Regions from separate parts of the Homo sapiens genome. Here regions 1, 3 and 4 are each linked to region 2. Evidence: promoter capture Hi-C in human tissues and cell types (Jung and others, 2019). All regions are on one chromosome and are shown on one strand. Each heading gives the region's core, a stretch centred on a gene start or on the middle of the fragment in contact. The rest is flanking DNA. Distances are from core to core; before and after follow the strand shown.

Region 1 (3,196 bases), core at 1-2,500, 620 kb after region 2:
GTCACCTGAAGTCGGCCTCCCCCGCCCCCTGCCAAAAGTAAACACTTTTCTAATCAGGGCCAGCCACTGGAGAAACTGAAATGAGTGGGCGGGGTGCTAACTCTATTTTCACTTTTCTCTTCCTGTTTCTTCAGAGCCTGGGAAACAAGTCAGAATTTCCAATCTTTTCCAATTCCCACATGATTTCCTAATTTAAGACGAATTCAGAGAAAATAAAAAAGTCTTTCTCCATCTGGAGAAGACTCCGCCCCCTGCAGTGGAGCATCCTCCTTTGGGGATGAGGCCTGGGGTGGGGGTGCGTCAGCCCCAGCCTCCACACGGACGCGCCTTGGGCTTGGTCTTGGGGGAGCTACCTGCACTGTGGGGTCACATGACAGAATTAGTGGTCAGCCCTAGCTGGAGGTCCAGGGCAAACACAGGCGGGGGCAGGGGGGTGGGGGGTCGTGAGCCTGCTGATTCAAGTGTCCCTGTGGGTCCCGCACCTTCTGAGACACAAGCGCCAGGCTTCAGAGACGAGGCTCCGGGATTTACCCCTGGGGGCCTCCTGCTCCCACAGCCGATGAGAGCCGGCAGTTTGGCTGTATCGTAAGCTGGCGCTTTAGCTGGAGAGGGACGAGCCCTCGGCCAGCTCGCCAGCGGGAGGGCCTCAGTCGTCCCATCCGGGCTGTAGGCTCCGCAAAGCTCTTGATGCACTGTCAGGCTGGGAGGTCCGGCCGCTCCCATTCCCCCACAGCCGCATCTAGATTGGGGTGGGTAGGACATTTTAACGTGCTTCTGAGACAGCCACCACCGAAAGGCACCTTTAGCGGTTAGGAAACCCGCGCGGAGTTCAACCACCCGGCCTCTGCGGAGCAGAAGGCCCGGTCGGGCTTTTCCCTGCGCGGGGCGGGCGGCCGCAGCCCAGTAGCCCTGGCTTTGCTCCAGACCCGGCCCAGAGTGACATCACCAAACTCCGCCGATCGGCGGGAGGGGGCCCTGAAATCCCCTAAAAACAAAGTGAGTAATCGGCGGACCCACCCTCCAGGCGGGGCCGGGACCCGGGAGCTAGCCGAGCCACCGGGCACGCCAGCCTCTTCGTCCTCGGCGAGGCGCGCACTTGGCCCCGACCCCCGGCAGCGGCTGTGCGTGCAGCCTCTTCGTCCTCCGCGCGGCGTGCACTTGCTCCCGGCCCCTGCGCCGGGCGGCGGCGGGGCAGCGCGCAGGCGCGGCCGGATTCCGGGCAGTGACGCGACGGCGGGCCGCGCGGCGCATTTCCGCCTCTGGCGAATGGCTCGTCTGTAGTGCACGCCGCGGGCCCAGCTGCGACCCCGGCCCCGCCCCCGGGACCCCGGCCATGGACGGTGAGGTCGCCCTCTGACCCCGCGGGGTGGCATCGCCGGGGCCGCCGCGGCTGTGGCGGGAGCCCCCGCGCCGCTTTCCGCCCCTTCCTGCGCCGACGGGCGCTGCGCAGGGAGCGGTCGGCCTGCCGGATGGTGGCGCGGGGCGGGGCAGGCGGGGAGGGGTCTGACTCAGTTTCCCCTCTGGGTGGAGGGGGTGGCCCTTGACTCAGCATCCTCCCTGGGTGGGGGAGCAGAGGGAACCTTGACTCAGTTTCCCTCCACACCGTCCATGGGGGCAGCTCTGGCTTCGTTTCCCTATTAGGGGAGAACGCATCTGATTCAGTTTCCTCTCTGGAGGGAGGTGGGGCGTGCCCTCCCTCAATTTTCCTTAAGAAAGTACAACAGGCCCTGATTCAGCTTCCCTCTGGAGAAGAAGGATTCCTTACCCCGTTTTCCCTCAAGAAGCAGGTGTTTCTGGTTCCTTTCCTCCACCCCTTAGTTTCACCGCAGGTTCTAGGGAGCAGGTCCTGACTCAGTTCCCCTGGGAGGGAGCCTGGCTTCTCCTCTCCGTGGAGAGCAGATTCCTCCTTGTGAGAATGGGCATTGGGTGTGTGCTGACCCTGATCTCCCTCCCCTTTCAGAACTGTTCCCCCTCATCTTCCCGGCAGGTAAGTGGCCCCCGCGGCGGTCGGGGAGGTGCTCCCTGGGGTAGGGCAGTGGGGGCAGCCGCCTAATGGGGCTGCGGTGTCCCCTGGCAGAGCCAGCCCAGGCCTCTGGCCCCTATGTGGAGATCATTGAGCAGCCCAAGCAGCGGGGCATGCGCTTCCGCTACAAGTGCGAGGGGCGCTCCGCGGGCAGCATCCCAGGCGAGAGGAGCACAGATACCACCAAGACCCACCCCACCATCAAGGTCAGCACTGCGCCAGGGTGTGCGGGGAAGGGACTGTGGAACCCCAGCCCTCTGTGTTTGGGAGTCAGGTTTGGATGTCTGGGCCTCTGTACTTTGGACAGATCAATGGCTACACAGGACCAGGGACAGTGCGCATCTCCCTGGTCACCAAGGACCCTCCTCACCGGCCTCACCCCCACGAGCTTGTAGGAAAGGACTGCCGGGATGGCTTCTATGAGGCTGAGCTCTGCCCGGACCGCTGCATCCACAGGTGAGGTCCCTGCAGGCTAGGAGGCCCAGCATGAGGGGACAGGAGGCGGGCTATGAAGTAGCCGCTACAGTGTTACTCCTTTCTGGACCCAGGGCAGAATTCCTCACTCCTTGCCCTGACTCAGCTCTGCAAGTAAACTGCCTTTGTCTTGAAATTATCTATTTGTACGTTTACTCTAGCAGATGAGTTCCAGGGGATACGGATGGGTCCCTAATCACTTCTGAATTCCTGACCCCTGTAGCTGGAAGGACAAGTCCCTCAGAGTCACGTCTCTTGTTTGAGGAAGAAAACCATTGAACCAGCACTCTCCCCTGGAGTTGACATTGCAGTTGACAGAGACAGGCTGTAAAAAAATATACAGGCCGGGCATAGTGGCTCATGCTTATAATCCTAGCACTTCGGGAGGCCAAGGCAGGAAGATCTCTTGAGCCTAGGAATTCAAGACTAGCCAAGGCAACATAGTGAGACCCCATGTCTACAAAAAATAAGAAATTAGCTGGGTATGGTGGCATGCGCCTATAGTCCCAGGGAGGCTGAGGTGGGAGGATCGCCTGAGCCCAGGAGGTCACTGCTGCGGCAAGCTATGATTGCACCACTGCACTTGGGTGGCAGGGCGATACCTTGTCTTTTTTTTTTTTTTTTTTTTTTTAAGAAAGAGTCTTGCTCTGTCCCCAGACTGGAGTGCAGTGGCGCGATCTCAGCTCACTGCAACCTCCA
Region 2 (5,894 bases), core at 3,395-5,894:
TGGGCTAGGAGCCTCCTGCCCCCAGCCCTGACACTGACCTTCCTCAGGAGGCAGCAGATGCGTTCGATGTTTTTTAAACGCTCGCGCTGTTGGGGGAAGGAAAAGGCCGCGATGGGGTGGCGGAGAAGCAGGTACTGGAGCAGCTCCCACCGCTCCACATGTGGCCGCCAGGGGGCGCCAGAGCGATCTCTGCGGCACTGTCGGCACGGCCGGGAAGCAGCCGCGCCGTCCCCATGGCGACCGTCACCATGGAAGGGCCTTCACCCGCGTCTCCATGGCAACGGCCCAGAGCCTGGCAACCACCGCCCCGCCAAGAGGAACTCAGCCCTGAGCCCGCGCCAGGTGTTTGCTGGGGGCGGAGACAGAGAGGAAGGGGGCATGGCCGTAGGCCCCCCACCCCACCCCCGTCTTCCCGTCTCCCACCCCCAGCCCACGACAGATGGAAAGACAGACGGACGGACACACCTCGGCACAGCACATGTATCACTTACTGCCCGCGCAGGGTTCCCCTGGTCGATGGGGTTCTTGAAGTCGGTCCGCAGCTCATCAAAGGCTATGATCTGGGGGAGGGGCGTGTGCCCGTCAGGGTTGGGGCAGCAGCTTATGGCCTTCCCCCAAGTCCTTCTGTGGGATAGTTTACTGAAGAGGACCAGCCAGGTGGAGCTTGTTGCAAAGGTGGAGAAACCGAGGTCCAGGGAGGAGCAGGGCCTGGTCCAAGGTCATTACAACAGTCCAGAAGGGAACCCTAGCGTCTGGATGCCCAGTTCAGGCCCATGTCCACTACACCCCCTTCCAAAACATCCCAAGACATGGCTTCGTGTCTGCCCTGCCAAGTCTCAGGCCCTGTGCTGAGCACTGGGGCTCCAGAGGCCTGGGATGCAGCCCCTGCCCAGGAGGAACCCAGGCCCAGAGGGATGATCACTCTGCCTTCCAGGTGATCAGGGTTTGGGGTACAGGGAGGACCTGGAGTGGGCGCTTAACCCTGTGTGGGGGGTGAGGGAGTTCAGGCTGGACTCGGAGTAGGTGTTGGTGAGCAAATGGGGGAAATGCAGTCCAAGCAGTAGAAGGTGCAATGGCAGAGGGGTGAAAGGTCAGGAGACATTCAGGAGGCTGCGGGTTTCATGGGGCTGGCGTGACAGCGCAGCGAGCAGGAAGAAAAGAGAGAGTGGTGGAAGAGGAGCTGGAGAATTCAGCAGAGCCAGACATGGGCGCCCTGTGAGGCCAGAGCAGGAGTTTGGACTTACTTTAACACAAAAATTTTGGGGGGAGGCATTGAAGAGTACACAGCAGCAGAGTGGGGTGGTCAGGTCCATGTCTTAGGATTGGTCCATGTCTCAGGATTGGTGGGGCAGGAAATCCGAGCTCACTGACAGTCACAGCTGAGATCTAAGTGGTGCTTCTCCTGGCCGGTATGTGGATTCACTCATTTAATTCTTAACAACCTTATGACTTAGGTACTAGTTTTATTTTCATGTCTGTTTTGCAGATGAGGAAGCTGAGGCAGGTTAAGTGACTTGTCCAGGGCCACACGGCTGGTTAGTGGATTCTAACCCAGTGTGACTCCAGAGTTAAAATTCCTAACCACTGTGTCATACTCAGGCCAGACCAGCAAGGGGACGGTTTGGAGGGTTAGGGGCAGGGCTGATGGTGGTCTGAGTGAGGAGAGTTGTAGTGGAGACGGAAGGCGTGCATGGGATTCTACAGCTCTTTAGGAGCCAGACTCCAGAGGGTTCAAATGGCTGAGAAGTGAAGGCAGAAATCTAAGGTGGCTTCAGGTGTTGGGGTGTCTGGCAGACGGCAGTGTCCTCACGGGTGGAAACTCTCCAGGGGAGCAAGTGTTTGAGGGGATGATGGGATGGGAAGGAGCTGACAGGTGACTTGGGGGAAATGGGCTGGCAGAGGAGCCTGCTGGGGTCCCCTCCTGTCGGCTCCAGCCCTAGGATGAGGCAGCAGGCCCACCACCCCCAGGCATCCCAGGCCCCAGACGGCTCAGAGAGAAAGAACATGGGCTTCCTGGAGGGAGCTGAGGCCATCTGGATCATCCCCCCTCCCCGCCCAGCTCCCCATTGACTCTGGGCAGCGCCACTTGGCACGCACAGCAACAGGGTCCACAGGGAGCAGAAGGGTGCCGTCTGTACCCCAGAGCTGGCACCACCAGCAGGCGGCGGGCGTCACCCCTCCCACCCCCCAGGCTGCCTGGCGCTGACTCAGCCCCCCGGAACAAACAATCCCCCATGGTGACAGCTGACACGCGTCACTCACCGCCAGGGTTGCCTAGGAACCACTGGGGCCTGGGCTGAGGGTCTGGAGTGGGATCTGGGGTCCCGCCCTGTTAAGAGTCTAGTTCTTAGCAGCTGTGGACTGAGGACCACGCCTCCTATCCCCTACCACCCAGCAGGCCGCACTAGGCACTCTGATGTGCACAGGTCCACTTTGCCGGCGAGGAACCAGACTTGGGACAAATGACTTGCTAAGATTGTCCAGCTAAATGGCTGAGTGGACAGAGTACCTCACACAGGTGCTCAATCAATATCTGTTGAATGAACAAAGACATTTCTTCAAAGCTTGGGCCTTTCCTCCCAGCCTGGGCACTCCACAAGGGCAAAGTCTGGGTTTTATTCATCCTTGACCCCCTCAAAGCCACCCAGAGCCTGATCTTTGGGAAGCATCAATGCAGGCGTGGTGGATAAACTGCTGAGGATCCCCTGAGGACAGGGACCCCACAGGGGCTGTGGGAAGGCCCTGGGTGGGGAAGGCCCCAAAAAGAGGCTTCTTGAATTCCAGGAGCCCTTCTCCCAGGAGCTGGTCAGCTCTGCATTCCCTAGCCTGTGGCCCCCAGCTCCCTCCAGTCCTTAGAACCCTAGCCCTCCTGCCCCTACCCCACAGAAAGAAAAATAGAGTAACTCGGGGTGCGGGGGAGAGGGGGAAAGACAAAGCAACCAAGACCCAGAGAGAGAGCAGAGCCAGGCCAAGGAGTGACAGGGCTGGAGCTGGGGTGTGTGCTGAGGTGCCTTTGGGGGCTCACTCTTCACACAGTAGGGGTTCAGTCTATGGATTCCCGATGTCAAAGAGCAAGGTGGCAGGGGATGGCAAAGGGAGCGCAGGGGGAACCATGGAGCAGGCGGCAGGTCCCAGGAAGAGAAAGGAGAGAGGAAGTGGAGAGCCCGGGAAAGAAGCAGGTGAGGCACCGGGAGGAAGGAGGGAAGGGCTATGGGAAATGGGATTGAGGGAGGGATAAGAGGACCCCTGAAAGGGAATGACAATCAGGGAGGTGTGCGCGGGAGGTGTGAGCAGAGGATGCTGAGCTGAGCCAGCCAGGGCCGAGCTGGGCAGGCTGTTACAGAAACAGGCACGGGGTTTGGGTGGGGGTGGGGACGGAGGGCAGTAAAGTGGGGCCAGGGGCCCCCAACAACCAGCTGGAGGCTGATTGATAGTTCTGTAGTGAGGGGACGGGAGCCAGGCAGAGGAGGCCCTGGAGGAGAGGAGCGGGAGGGGAGGAGGAGGGAGCCTGGGGGAAGCGATGGGTCGGATGCAGGATGAGGAATGGACATTTTGAAGAACCAGGTGTGAGGCTAGGCCAGGGCGAGGGACAGACCAAGGGGTATGTGAGAGACAAAGGGGAAGGGGGACAGGAAGAGGAGGGAAGCTGGAAAATGGAGAGGAAACCTGGGGGGCTGGGAAGCCCCCAACAGGAGGGGTAGGGAAACCCAAGGTGAGCCGGTGGTGGGGGCTAGGTCTCTGGGGGCTGATGAGAGCCAACTGCTGCTTGGTCAGGGAGGGGGCTGGGAAGGCAAAGGGTTAATGGACTCTGAGATCTGTGGGTCCTGTAAACAGATGCAGTTGCCATAGCAACCAGCTCCATCACTCTGGCTGGAAAAACCCACAAAGGCGGGGGGGGGGGGGCAGCAGACAGACAAACTGCCCGACGGACTAATGGAGGCGGCTGGATGGTGGTGGGGGGGGACATAGAAGATAAAGCAACAAAAATGCCAGAATTCCACCCCCCACCTCACGGGCTGCATGGGAGCAGAGGACGAGGGCAGAGGAGGGGGTCAGAGACCGACTGACATACACACAGACAGGCGGGGGCGGCGGAGGAAGGGGGGCCCCGGGAAGAAAGCCGACCACGGGGGGTGTTAATGGGGGCGAAGCCGACAAGCCGACGGCTGGGGGATAGCAAGTTTCCCCTGGGCTCTGAGACCACCCGCCCTGGGTCCCTCCAGCTCCGCGTGGCCCCTGCCCCCCACCCCGCCCCCAGCCCCAGCCCCAGCCCGGCCTTACGTGCCAGATGACAAAGAAGATGAGGGAGGCGCACAGCACCAGGGTGAGCATGTAGCAGAACGCGGCGAAGGTGAACGCCATGGCCCCCGCGCCGGGCGGCGGCCCGGGGGGCGCCAGCGCGGGGCCCGGGCGCAAGGGGACGCCCCCCGGCCCGCGCTTAGGGCCGGCCGGGCATGGCCCGTGGGGCTCGGGGGACGTGGGTGATGCGGCCGGGACCGGGACCGCGGGGCCGTGGGGGGCGCGGGGCGCGGGCCGGTGGGCTCGGGGGGCGCGTCCGCTGCCGGCTGCCCGGGCCCCGATCGCTCATCCTGCGATCCCTCGCCCGCGGCTCCCTCGCTCTCCAGCCCGCGAAGCCGGCGGGGCGGAGCCGGGGGCGGGGCCGCCGCGCGAGCGGCCTCGGGCGGGGCTGGGTCTCCGCGGGCCCCTCGTCTGCCCGCCCGGCTCGGGCGCCACCCCCAGCCCCGACAAGCCCGCGGCCGTTCACCCTCCGGACAGCGTAGACGCGGCCGCCCCCGGCACCCCGCACCCCTCGGCACTCCAGCCACCGGCACAGCCGCACTCGGCCCCCTCGGGCGGGCGCTCAGGGCAAAGGCTGAAGTGCGAGGCACTTGTCACTGTCGGAGACGGCAGAAGCACCTGGCTGGGACACACAATGACGCCAGGACAGGGGCTGAATGGGAGCAGTGGGGTTTTGGGGGGCGCTGAAGGAGGTTGGGCCAGGTGCAGTGGGGGCCCTCTCAGCGGCTGCGCGACCCCACACCTCTGCCGTGTGCCCCGCGGGAGTTGGCGGCGGCACGCCAGGTATGAGCTGATGGCCGCCTGCCTCTTTCCCTGACAGAACGGTGCTGGGCCCTTGGGGACAGACCACAGAAGCACAAGCAGCTTTCCTGGCCTCAGGAAACGGGGTCAAGGGCTTTTGCCAGCAGCCTTAGGACACAGAAACCAAGCCAGGACCCCCGTGCACCCCACCAAGCCCAGGGTTCCAGTTCCATCCCCCCACCCCAAGGCTGGGCTTAGACCACAGACCACACTTGGCCACCACAACTTCCTTGCAAAAACCCTCAGCTCACCCGAGGGCCAATGGAAATTTATTAATTTTTTTTGTCCTTTTCCATCTTTCCCCAAGTGGCTTTTCCTTGCAAAATGCCTGACATGACACCAGAGGGGAACCTGGGAGCGGGGGGCACCCCAAGGGGGCAGCCCAGGGACTTAAATACAAGCTGGAGGGCAGGGCACAGGTGGGACAGGCAAGAGACAGCACGAGGGACATGGCTTCTCAGGGAGACCAAAGACTTGCTTTCTTGCAGGAAGCAGCTGTGCCAGAGGGCAGGGGACTAGGATCCTGGGTGCAGAGTGGGTGAGCAGAGAGGCCCCCAATCCTGGATGGAACCCACATTCCCCAGAGAAGTAGCGGCAGGGGATGAGGGCCTTCCCTGGTGGGCTCCAGAGACGGAGTGGGGAGTGAGCCAGATGTGCTACCTTGGGGAAAGGGAGGAGGTGCTAGCAGAGTGAGGGTTAAGGCTGGTGCCCAGCCTCTGGCACGGTGGGCCTTCCGCCTCCGCCTGACATGGGGACAAAGGGGCACGGTGGGCAGGCAGCGCATGGGTCTGTCT
Region 3 (5,852 bases), core at 1,404-3,903, 510 kb after region 2:
ATATATGGGCTGAGCATGGTGGCTCACACCTGTAATTCCAGCACTTTGGGAGGTCAAGGTAGGAAGATAGCTTGAGGCCAGGTGTTTGAGAACAGCCTGGGCAACATAGTGAGACCCTGTCTCTACAAAAATTAAAAAAAAAAAAAAGAAAAAACACAACAGCCAAGTGTGGTGGCGCATGCCTGAAGTCCTAGCTGCTCAGGAGGCTGAGGCAGGAGGATGGCAGCTTGAGCCCAGGAGTTCAAGGTTGCAGTAAGCCATGATCACACCACTGCACTCCAGCCTGGGTGACAGGGTGAGGCCTTGTCTCAAAAAAAAAAAAGAAAAAGAAGGCCGGGCACGGTGACTCATGCCTGTAATCCCAGCACTTTGGGAGGTCAAGGCGGGCAGATGACTTGAGGTCAGGAGTTTAAGACCAGCCTGCCCAACATGGTGAAACCCCGTCTCTACTAAAGATACAAAAATTAGCTGGGTGTTGTGGTGGGTGCCTATAATCCCAGCTACTCAGGAGGCTGAGGCAGGAGAATCACTTGAACCTGGAAGGTGGAGGTTGCAGTGACCCGAGATTGCGCTATTGCACTCCAGCCTGGGCGACAAGAGCGAGACTCCGTCTCAAAAGAAAAAAAAAAAACACGTTTTCCATGCCTTGGCAAATTGTCATACTCCTTCCTAAGTTTGGATCAACTTTCAACATCTTATCCTTTGTACTTCCAACGTTGTGAAATATCTCCAAGTTCTTTTAAACTTTTTGCCAGCGGCATTTCTTCTAGGATATCTTTATCCTTTTTGTAACCACTGCCTGCCGTAATAATTATCCTTGATCCTCGTTAGTATAGTGGTTAGTTAAACAAACAAAATCAGCTGGATGTGGTAGCTCATGCCTATAGTCCTTAACATTTTGGGAGGCTAAGGCAGGAGGATTGCCTGAGCTCAGGAGTTCAAGACCAGCCTGGGCAATATAGTGAGACCCCATTTCTAGAAAAAAAATTTTTTTTTTGTATTTTTAGTAGAGATGGGGTTTCACTATGCTGGCCAGGCTGGTCTCGAACTCCTGACCTGGTGACCTGCCCTCCTTGGTCTCCCAAAGTGTTGGGATTACAGTCGTGTGCCACCATGCCTGGCCTAATTTTTGTATTTTTAGTAGAGACGGGGTTTCACCATGTTGGCCAGCCTGGTCTCAAACTCCTGACCTTAGGTGATCCGCCAGCCATGGCCTCCCAAAGTGTTGGGATTACAGGCATGAGCCACCGCCCCTGGCCTCTAAAAAAATGTAAAAACCTAGCTGGGTGTGGTGGCACATGCCTAGCATCTAAGCTACTTGGGAGGCTGAGGCAGGAGGATTGCTTGAGCTCAGGAGTTTGAGGCTGCAGTGAGCCATGATTGTGCCACTGCAGTACAGTTTGGGCAACAGAACGAGACACTGACAAAAAAAAAAAATCCTTGACATCTGGGGATAGATTTCACAGCAACATCCTCATCTGTGCTTGACAGTTTCACATTAATCAATTCATGCCAACTTCTGAAATGATGAAACAAACCACTCTTTACCGTTAGTAAAAGTTTCTGCAGTCTCCTTGAAATTACTGTTTTCTGTCAATGTGGCAATTAACTTCAATGCTTCAGCCTGAATGCTGGCCAAACCAATGGGGATTGTTAACAAATTACAGTCTTCAGTTCAACATAGAAGTAAACATTCCATTTCAACCACGAACGACTTCTGTTTCCAGCGCAATTTAAACTAAAAGATGTTGAAGCAGCCTGGGCGTGGCGGCTCATGCCTGTAATCCCAGCACTTTGGGAGGCTGAGGTGGGAGGATTGCTTGAGCTCAGGAGTTCGAGACTAGCCTGGGCAACAAAGAAAAAAAAGTAAATTAAAAGAAAAAAATTTAAAAAAAATATGTTGAAGCAACTTTACCTTGTTTATTATATGTATTAGTTTATTTTGTGTTGCTCTAAAGGAACACTGGAGACTAGGTAATTTATACAAAAAAGACGTTTATTTGGGTCACGGTTCTACAGTCTGTACGAGAAGCATGGCACCAGCACCTGCTTCTGGTGAGGCCTCAGGAAGCTTACAATCATGGCAGAGGGCAAAGAGGGAGCAGTGTATCACATGGCAAGAGAGGGAGCAAGAGAGAGGGAGGGGGAGCTGCCACACTCTTTTAAATAACCAGTTCTTGTGTGAATTTACTACCACTCATTACCTCGAAGAGGGCACCAAGCCATTCCTGAGGGATCCACTCCCATAGCCCAACACCTCCCACTAAGCCCCACCTCCAACATTGGGGTGGTCACATTTCAACATGACAATTGGAGGGGACAAGCATCCAAACCATATCATGATATTCATCAGACTTTCGATATAGTTCATGCCACAGCTTCATATACAATTTCACTTCCAGTCTTATCATCCTCATTTTTTTTGGCTGCACTTTTATATTTGTTAGCCATTCCCCCTTCCAATTATCCATCCAATTTATTTTTTATTTATTTATTTTTTGAGATGGATGGAGTCTCACTCTGTCACCCAGGCTGGAGTGCGGTGGCACAATCTCGGCTCACGGCAACCTCTGCCTCCCAGGTTTAAGTGATTCTCCTGCCTCAGCCTCCGAGTAGCTGGGATTATAGGCGCCCACCACTACGCCTGGCTAATTTTTGTATTTTTAGTAGAGACAGGGTTTCACCATGTTGGCCAGGATGGTCTTGAACTCCTGACCTCAAGTGATCCATCCACCTCAGCCTCCCAAAGTGCTGGGATTGCAGGTGTGAGCCACTGCGCCCAGCCCAATCATTGAATTTCATAAAATGTTATATCTGTTGATCACTGAGAGATGAGGAGGCAACCCACCTATACACTTGTCTGACGTCTGCATGAGCTGAATAACACACCGGCACTGACCAGCCAATCACCACTAGTCTTCGAAAGCAGTGATGTCCTAATCATGATGCCCATCTGTTATTTATGTCATTTTTTTGGACTAAAGAGCCAGCAGCAAGGTTTGCACCTTATACAATTCGTTAAAATTCCATGGCAAATGAAGTTTGAACCATGCTGGTGGGGAGGACTGGAGTTATTAAACTAAAATGTGGTAAGCCAAATATGTCCATATGGGGACTGGGCAAAGCAAAGACTGCCCACATACAGCACCTTAGCCTTTGTATGAGTTAGGAAACAATGGACTGTTTTTCCTTCTACATTCACACTCAACATAGAATGCTTCTGATCACCAAAATGTGTGGGTGATCAAACCCACACACCAAACAATTCTCTAGTGGACACTAACAGGGTGTCTTATAATTTAATTCAATTCTGACACCATCTACCTGGAGTTACAGTCAGAACCCACAGGTTAAGGGCTCAGTCCTGCAAGACTGTGCACACCTCAGAAGCCAGTCGCAAGCCGCAGGCTGTGACCTGTGCCTCTGTCCAATGAGCTATAAATAGGGGTTCCCACAACCCCATCCTGGAGTTTGATAATTTCTAGGCCAGCTCACAGAACTCAGGGAAACTTTACTTACGTTTACCCATTTATTCTAAAGACTATTAAACAGAATACAGATGCACAGGGCAAAGCATGTCAGAAGACCCGCTAAGCTTCCCTGCCCTCTCTGGGATGTGCCACCATCTAGGCACCTTCACGTGTTCAGCAGCCCAATAGCTCTCCAGATTCTGTAGTTCCAGGATTTTTATGGAGGCTTCATCACCCAGGCATGGTTGATTATTAACTCAGTCTCCAGCCTCTCTCCCCTTCCTGAAGAATGGGGGGTGGGACTGAAAGGTTCAAGCTTCTCATTATGGCTTGATCTTTCTGGCGACCAGGCCTCATCCAGGAGCCAGCAAGAGTCGGTCCTCTTGTTAGGACAGAAGATGCTTCTACCCCCACAATAATATTGCCATCTGGGGGAAAAAGGACTTGTTAGCAGTTCATGTTTGTACTCCTAGAAGTACTTTCAAGAAGTATAAAAATGAATACACAGATATTTAAATGTTAAAACATTTGTGTTTGTGGTCAGTCAAGTTTCTACATAAGAGTGAGGTGCAGAGTGATAAACCAACTTCAAATAACATGACGATTCTCCTCTGATGTAATGTTGCCCATTCTAACAAAGTGTTTGCGAAACCTTAATTACTTGCCCTATTTGGTGAGAATCAGGCAACGAACAGAGAATCACATTTAATATGGATATAGAAAATATTTCGACCGGGCCCAGTGGCTCACACCTGTAATTCCAGCACTTTGGGAGGCTGAGGCCGGGGATTACAAGGTCAGGAGTTCGAGACCAGCCTGGCCAATATGGTGAAACCCCATCTCTACTAAAAATACAAGAAGTAGCCAGGTGTGGTGGCATGCACCTGTAATCCCAGCTATTCGGGAGGCTGAGGCGGGAGAATTGCTTGAAACCGGAAGGCAGAGGTTGCAGTGAGCCAAGATCACACCACTGCATTCCAACCTGGAGGATCCGTCTAAAAAAAAAAAAGGTAAAATTTTCTGTAGCCACTATATAACTATTCACTTTCAGATTAGTTTTGCATAATAGAGATTCCTTTATGCCACTAAGTGGAGAATAAAAGGTTTAAAAGTCAGAAAATCGCTCTCCCTCTCCCCTTTCCACGGTCTCCCTCTCCCTCTCTTTCCACGGTCTCCCTCTCCCTCTCTTTCCACGGTCTCCCTCTCCCTCTCTTTCCACGGTCTTCCTCTGATGCCGAGCTGAAGCTGGACTGTACTGCTGCCATCTCGGCTCACTGCAACCTCCCTGCCTGATTCTCCTGCCTCAGCCTGCCGAGTGCCTGCGATTGCAGGCGCGCACTGCCACGCCTGACTGGTTTTCGTATTTTTTTGGTGGAGACAGGGTTTTGCTGTGTTGGCCGGGCTGGTCTCCAGCTCCTAACCGCGAGTGATCCGCCAGCCTCGGCCTCCCGAAGTGCTGGGATTGCAGACAGAGTCTCGTTCACTCAGTGCTCAATGGTGCCCAGGCTGGAGTGCAGTGGCCTGATCTCGGCTCGCTACAACCTCCACCTCCCAGCCGCCTGCCTTGGCCTCCCAAAGTGCCGAGATTGCAGCCTCTGCCCGGCTGCCACGCCATCTGGGAAGTGAGGAGCGTCTCTGCCTGGCCGCCCATCGTCTGGGATGTGAGGAGCCCCTCTGCCTGGCTGCCCAGTCTGGGAAGTGAGGAGCGCCTCTTCCCAGCCGCCATCCCATCTAGGAAGTGAGGAGCGTCTCTGCCCGGCTGCCCATCGTCTGAGATGTGGGGAGCGCCGCCGCCCTGTCTGGGACTTGAGGAGCGCCTCTGCCCGGCCGCCCTGTCTGGGATGTGAGGAGCGCCTCTGCCCGGCCGTGACCCTGTCTGGGAGGTGAGGAGCGTCTCTGCCCGGCCGCCCCGTCTGAGAAGTGAGGAGCCCCTCCCCCCAGCAGCCGCCCCGTCTGAGAAGTGAGGAGCCCCTCCGCCCGGCAGCCACCCGATCTGGGAAGTGAGGAGCGTCTCCGCCCGGCAGCCGCCCCGTCCGGGAGGGAGGTGGGGGGTCAGCCCCCGCCCGGCCAGCCGCCCCGTCCGGGAGGTGGGGGCGCCTCTGCCCGGCCACCCCTTCTGGGAAGTGAGGAGCCCCTCTGCCCGGCCACCACCCCGTCTGGAAGGTGTACCCAACAGCTCACTGAGAACGGGCCATGATGACAATGGCGGTTTTGTGGAATAGAAAAGGGGGAAAGGTGGGGAAAAGATTGAGAAATCGGATGGTTTCTGTGTCTGTGTAGAAAGAAGTAGACATGGGAGACTTTTCATTTTGTTCTGTACTAAGAAAAATTCTTCTGCCTTGGGATCCTGTTGATCTATGACCTTACCCCCAACCCTGTGCT
Region 4 (5,765 bases), core at 3,266-5,765, 580 kb before region 2:
GCTCCCATTCATCTAAACCAGGCTCTCGAAGCCCACCTCTAGCTGCATGTTCTGGGGCTGGGAGGGCAGGCACACGCGTGTGAGCCAGGTCCATGCACACGTGAACACACGTATGCCTTAGAGCACCTGCCTCACCTCGGCTGCCCGGTGGCAGCGCCTTGGCCCTCACACAGAAAACACCAGGGAGTCTGTGCAGCGTGTTTGCCGTGGCCTGGGGTGCCAGGGCCGCCTTCTGAGTTTTCATACAGCACCTGGGGGAGCTTGACCCTCTGCAGGGCTGAGGGCCACGTCTGCCCATGCCCCCCAGCCAGTGCCTAGAAGCAGATAGTTCAGGAGGCTGCAGGGGCTGGGCCAGGTCGGAGGCTGCCCGGGCCTGGCCAGGGGTCCTAGCAGAGAAAGCAGGGCTCGTGCCCATCCGGCTGCCTCCCTGCAGCGAGGGAGGGCGAAGGCCGCCTTCCCAGGAAGGCCCAGAGCACATCTGAGCTGGCAGCTGCGGTCCTGCTCGGACCCACAGTTCTGACAGGAACCTTCCAGAGGATCACGGGCTGATGGCAGAGCAGTGGGGTTCCCTGCCCTTCCAGTCCCTTTGGGATGGCGTTTTACCAGTCCACAAGATGCCCTGGGAGGTGGCAGACACAGCTGTCAGCACCTGGAGCCATGAGGACTTTTCACTGTACGCTCAGCCCAGGTCCGTTCTCCCAGAGGGCTGTACCGTCCCCCACCTCCTCCTGTTGCTTAGTCCAGTCCTGTGTCCGCCCCGCAGACCCTGAAGTGCCATGGGGAAGGCGCTCACACGTGCTCCCCAGGCTTTACACTGGATACGGCGTCCTGTCGCCACCTGGCAGGAAGGGGCGTTCTTTGCACTTACAGGCGAGGGTAGGCCGCCTGCCCAAGCCCATGCTCTTGCAGGTCAGAAGACACCAGGCACAGCCCTTGGCCGCAGCCCTGGGCCGCCCCTGTGGACAGGAAGCCAGGAGGCCCCAGGCTGCTGTGACTGCCCCCACCGGCCCTGGTAGCCCCACCCTTGTCCGTGTGCCACCAGCGGCCCGTGTCCTGTCCTCCCGTCTCGGGGGACCTAGCCAGACAACACCAGAGACTAGCACTGAGGTGTCCCCAACAATTTTATTATAAATAAAAACAAGACTCCCAGTGGGTGGCTGCAGCCCCTGCCTCGGTGGCTGTGAGCACCTGTTGGAGGGGCCTGCCCTTACCCTGGTCTGGAGGCCAGAACCGAGGAAAGGGCTCCCTGCCCCTCCAAGTACACAGGGGAGCCTGAGGTACTGAGAATAAAAACCAGGGAGGGACTCCCAGGCCAGGCGGCGGCCCCGGGCCCTCTGCCCCACGAGGCTCATCCCTTGGAGCACACAGGAAGCTGCCCGTCCATCACACCACACTCTCTTCCAGCCGCTCGGCGCTGCCTCCTACCCCCCGGCACCCTGCCCCGAGCAGCCCCCCATGCACAGAGTGGCTCCGTCGGGCCCAAGCTCCTCCCAGGCGCCTGGCATAACCGTAGCACCCGGCATCTCCCAGGTCCAGAGAGCAGCTGCGCTGCGGCCGGGGCGGGGGGCTCCGCGGCGGGTGGGCCTTGGGTGTGGGGCTGGGGCCTCCATTGGTCTGGGACTGGACGTGGCTGAGCTTGAGGGGGAGGCGGCCATTTCCGGCCCCCCGGCCCCGAACCAGCAAGGCCACAGTGAAGACCAGTAAGGCAGCCACCAGCACACCCCCCACGGCCACGGTCAGGGTCCCGCCCAGCACGTGGGCCTGCAGGGCGTGGCACAGGGGCGAGGCCGGCAGCGTGGAGAAATGGGCACAGCCCAGCAGCCTGGTGGCCGTGAGGTCAGAGGGCCCAGCGGCCGGTGACAAGGCCAGCAGGCAGAGGTCATAGTCAGCGCCGGGGACGAGGTGCTTCAGCAGGAAGTGGTGGCTGGAGGCTGGGACAATCCTGCAGGCAAGGGCAGGTGGTCAGAGCCCGGGGCTGGGGTCTAGCCCCATCCTCACCTCCCCACTCCCGTGCTCCCAGCTCCAAACACCCCTCCCCCTGGGGCCACTCGGGCTCTTGGGTTCACTCAGGAAGGTGAACAGGCTGGAGAGTGTGGCCAGGAGATGGGTGTGTGCACTGGCACAGGACGCAGGCAAGCGAGGGGAATGGGGTGGGGGGATGGCACCAGCAGAGGCAGAAATAACACGCGGGCGCGGGCCATGTGCTTCAGACAGACCCAACCGCCACCTGCTGCCGGGGAGGCCTGCACAGCTCAGTGACACCTGGGACATCTCGGGGTGGGGTCCTTCTGCCGCCCCTTGAGCTCCAGCCCCCTCAGGCAGCCAGGCCAGGCCAGGCCACTGCTCCTCCAAGAGTCCAGCAGCCATGGTCGGGGAGGGGGTGTCAGCCCCAGAGAGAGGAGGGGTGGAAGCAAAGCCTTGTGGGGAGCAGAGGGCGGAGGAAGGGCGCCGGGAGTGCAGCCGGGTGTGGGGCACGCATCCTCACCGGTAGATGAGGGTCTCATCTTCGCTGCTGTTGTACTGGATTTGGAACATCCACACTGGGTCGGCTGGCCGCCCGGGACCCCAGCTCACCAGCCCTGAGGTGGCGGTCACCTCCGTCACCTGCACGGCTGGCTCAGACTCCAGCGTCCCCTCACCCTCGGCAGCAGTGCGAGCGGAGGCGGCGATGTCCGAGGGCCCGGGGCGGCCCCCCTCGGCACTGCTGTTCCCACCATGGGGCAAGGCCAGCACCCGCAGTTCTACTCGGGCTGTGGCCTCACCAGCAGGGTTGGTGGCGATGCAGGTGTAGCCCCCAGCGTCCCCAGCGCCGGTCACCCCAATCTCTAAGGTCCCGTTGGGGAAAGCCCGGGCTCGGGAGGAGTTGCCAACCAACCGGTCGTCAGGACCGACCCAGTGCATGGTAGGCGCGGGGTCACCCAGGGCCCGGCACCGCAGCGTGGCCCGCTGGCCTTCCAGCACCCAGAGGCGCTGCGTGTGGCGGGCAATGAGGGGCGGCTCACAGGAGAACTCGCCCTCGGGCACTGCCCAGAAGTAGCGGCCGGCCAGGCCGGGCGGGGAGGCGCACGTTTCCAGGTCGTCCGGCCGCGCCAGCCGCCGCAGCCACAGCAGCTCACAGTTGCAGTGCAGGGGGTTCCCGCTAAAGCTCAGCACCAGGGGGGCGGGAGAGGCCTCTGCATCACGCCCACGAGAGAAAAGCGGGTCCGGAGCCAGCGTGGCCAGGCGGTTGGAGGTGAGGTCCAGGCGGGAGAGCTGACCGAGCTGGGCGAAGGCGCCTGGGGGCAGTGCGTCAATAAGGTTATGGTCCAGGTTGAGGGTGTGCAGGGCAGGCATGGCGCCGATGCCGGCCCAGGGCACCTGCCGGAGGTTGTTGTAGGACAGGTCCAGGTCCTCCAGGCTCTCTAGGAAGTCGTCGAAGGCTCCCGGCGCGATGCGGCCCAGCTGGTTGCCGCTGAGGATGAGGTGCTGCAGATTGACGGGGCCCCGGAGGCTCCCGGTGCCCAGCTCCACCAGCCTGTTGCCGTCAAGGTGGAGGGAACGCAGGCTCTCGAGGTCCCCAAAGGCGCGGGCCCCAATGCGGGTGATGGCATTGCGAGACAGTGTCAGGTCCACCAGTCCCGTCATGTTGCGGAAGTCAGGGGGCCCCAGGGCCTGGATGAAGTTGTCAGCCAGCCGCAGCTCCACTGTGCGCCGGTCCACGTTGGGCGGCACAAACAGCAGGCCTCGGTGGGCACAGAGGGTGCTGAGCGACTCGGACAGGTTCTGGCAGACGCAGGGCAGCGGGCAGGCGGCCGCTCCACTGGCCAGCAGCAGCAGCAGGAGCGGCGGGGCCATGGTGAGCGCCCTGTAGGAAGGGGCCACAGCCCAGGCACAGGTGGGGCTGGCGCAGGTGCCCACTTGGGCCCAGGACAGTCCCAGAAGCCAGCTTCTGTGAGCCTGGCCCGGGGAGGGGCTGGGTCAGAGGCCCAAGAGGGCCGCCAGAGATGAGGGAAGGTTGGGGCCTGCAGGGCCAGGCCCCCCAGAGCAAAGGTCACATTTCCCAAGCAGTTAAGGGGGAGTCCAGGCGCTGGGGACAAGGTGAGGCATGAGGCAGGAAGCGGAGGAGGACCGAGAGCAGGGAGGGTCCCGGAACTTCCTTTCCCAGGCGTCCCCAGGAATCGCCAGCCGCCTCCCCACTCCCCGCCATACCCTCCCCCGCCAGAGAAGGCGCCCCCCGAACCTCCCGTGGAGTCCGTGGCCCCTCCCTGGCCGGCCCCCGCGCTGCGCCCGGCGGCCCCCTCACCTGGTGTCCGTCGCTCAGGGGGCGCGGGCCGGCCTCCCTGCGAGCCCGGCCGGCCCCCGCCGACTCCTGGCCGCTCTCCCGCGGGGACGAGGCCCGGGGATGACCGGCCGCCCGCCGCCCACCCTCGGGCCCATGGCGCTCGGGCCCGCGGCCCCGGCTCGCTCGGTTCCCGGCACCTTTTCCCGGCGCGGTTAGCGGTGGCGGCGGCGACAGGCGAGCGGGTGCGCGCCGGCGGGCGCGCGCGCCGCGGACACGCACGTGGAGGGCGGACGGGGAGGGGCGCGCGGGGATCCACCCGGGCCCGGGCCGGCTCCTGAGGTCACGGGGACACGCGGCCGCTGCAGCGCCCACGGGTGGCGCCCAGTCACGCCCGAGGCCCGGGCCGGCGCGGGCCCTCCGCGCTGTCCCCCGGCGCTGCCGCAGCGCACTCACCCTGGCACAGGCGCGCGCGCCCCCGGCCATCCTGGCGCCCCGGCATCCTGCACCGCACGGGCGCCCGCCGCCGCGGCGCGAACCTCACTCTGCAGACAGCCAGACAAAGCGCCTGCTCGCGGGCCCCTTCACCATCTCCCGGAGACGGGCGTCTTTGTCACATGTCGCTGGGCACCCTCCCCAACACACCCACACATGCCCACACACCCACACGTCCCTGCACCCACGGGCAGGGCCGAGCGCAAACCCGCACTGTTGCTGGGACCCTTGCGTTCACAGACACACGCTGAAGGTCATAACCGTTCTGCATCACCGAGTCACGTGGAGGGTCCCCAACCGGCACGGGGTTCGGCCGTGGGGGGGGCTGGGGCGGCGCCCCTGGCAGGGCTGCTGCGGGGTGGGGCCGAGAGGGCTTGGCCTCCGGGCAGGCGCCCCGCCCCCGCCGCCCCGCCCTGTCCCCAGCTGCCTCTCGCCTCTCCCTCCCTCCCCAGCTGCCCCGCCCGCCCCGCGGGCCAGGCGTTCCGGAGCCAACCGGCCTCCGCCTCGGGCCGGATTGGTCTGCGCGGCGCGGCTTCCCAACCGCCGGGGGCACGCATTGGGAAGCTGTGCGTCCTCGCAGCGCCTGCGGCCCCTCCCTCCCGCTCTGTCGCCGCCGGGCCATTTCCCTGGAAGAGCGGCTCGGAACCAGCTCCTCTCAGAGAAAGGGCTCCCGGCGTGAGGTGGGGGAGGTTCTTTGCTTCCTGGTTGAGAAAGCTGGGGCTTCGGTGGCTCGGCGAGCCTGGTTTCCTTCCAGCTGTGCCCGCCACCACCAGTGGTCTGCCCAGTTGGGAAACAGGAAGTCACCACCTCCCCGTGTCTCCTGGTCCTTAAGCCACCTAAACCTCAGCCATCCTCGTTCTCCCTCCAGCCCTGATCCCCATGGGCCAGGTGGCAGGAAACTCGGGGAAACCCAAGATTGGAATTCTGATCCTGTCAGCACAGCAGTGTAGTCCTGGGCACGTTACCTGACCACTGAAAACAAGTTCCTCCTGTAGGCCAGGAGAGTTGGATG

Evidence for each region. Contacts are between HindIII fragments. The study calls those that stand out against the background at their distance.
Region 1: the fragment with the promoter of RELA here is called in contact with the fragment with the promoter of CNIH2 in region 2 in 1 of the 25 tissues and cell types used here (bladder).
Region 3: a contact is called between a fragment that was not itself captured here and the fragment with the promoter of CNIH2 in region 2, in 1 of the 25 tissues and cell types used here (pancreas).
Region 4: the fragment with the promoter of LRFN4 here is called in contact with the fragment with the promoter of CNIH2 in region 2 in 1 of the 25 tissues and cell types used here (pancreas).

The regions. Positions count from the first base shown.
Region 1 is chr11:65,660,970-65,664,165 of GRCh38, reverse strand. RELA (RELA proto-oncogene, NF-kB subunit) reads left to right here and starts at 1,250. Exons shown (of 11, transcript NM_021975.4): 1 at 1,250-1,340; 2 at 1,961-1,987; 3 at 2,078-2,229; 4 at 2,331-2,479. The coding sequence starts at 1,334. RELA-DT (RELA divergent transcript) reads right to left here and starts at 1,160. Exons shown (of 4, transcript NR_183625.1): 1 at 1,018-1,160. RefSeq lists an enhancer at 744-943 and silencers at 1,034-1,443, 1,504-1,563. The HindIII fragment of the contact is 29,460 bases long and covers 1-3,196 here.
Region 2 is chr11:66,276,925-66,282,818 of GRCh38, reverse strand. CNIH2 (cornichon family AMPA receptor auxiliary protein 2) reads right to left here and starts at 4,644. Exons shown (of 6, transcript NM_182553.3): 1 at 4,282-4,644; 2 at 492-560; 3 at 39-86. The coding sequence starts at 4,362. RAB1B (RAB1B, member RAS oncogene family) reads right to left here. Exons shown (of 6, transcript NM_030981.3): 6 at 5,327-5,894. It overlaps LOC107984340 (a long non-coding RNA gene), which reads left to right and starts at 4,294. Exons shown (of 2, transcript XR_001748274.1): 1 at 4,294-4,324. RefSeq lists an enhancer at 1-373 and a silencer at 4,539-4,868. The HindIII fragment of the contact is 9,186 bases long and covers 575-5,894 here.
Region 3 is chr11:65,762,493-65,768,344 of GRCh38, reverse strand. No RefSeq gene overlaps it. Among named protein-coding and RNA genes, the nearest start is that of AP5B1, 16 kb to the left of the region's middle. The HindIII fragment of the contact is 5,509 bases long and covers 1-5,407 here.
Region 4 is chr11:66,855,814-66,861,578 of GRCh38, reverse strand. It overlaps LRFN4 (leucine rich repeat and fibronectin type III domain containing 4), which reads right to left and starts at 4,515. Exons shown (of 2, transcript NM_024036.5): 1 at 2,486-4,515; 2 at 1,104-1,942. The coding sequence starts at 3,834. The coding sequence ends at 1,384. The region is part of intron 12 of PC (pyruvate carboxylase); the gene reads left to right. RefSeq lists silencers at 4,630-4,739, 4,900-5,429. The HindIII fragment of the contact is 20,544 bases long and covers 1-5,765 here.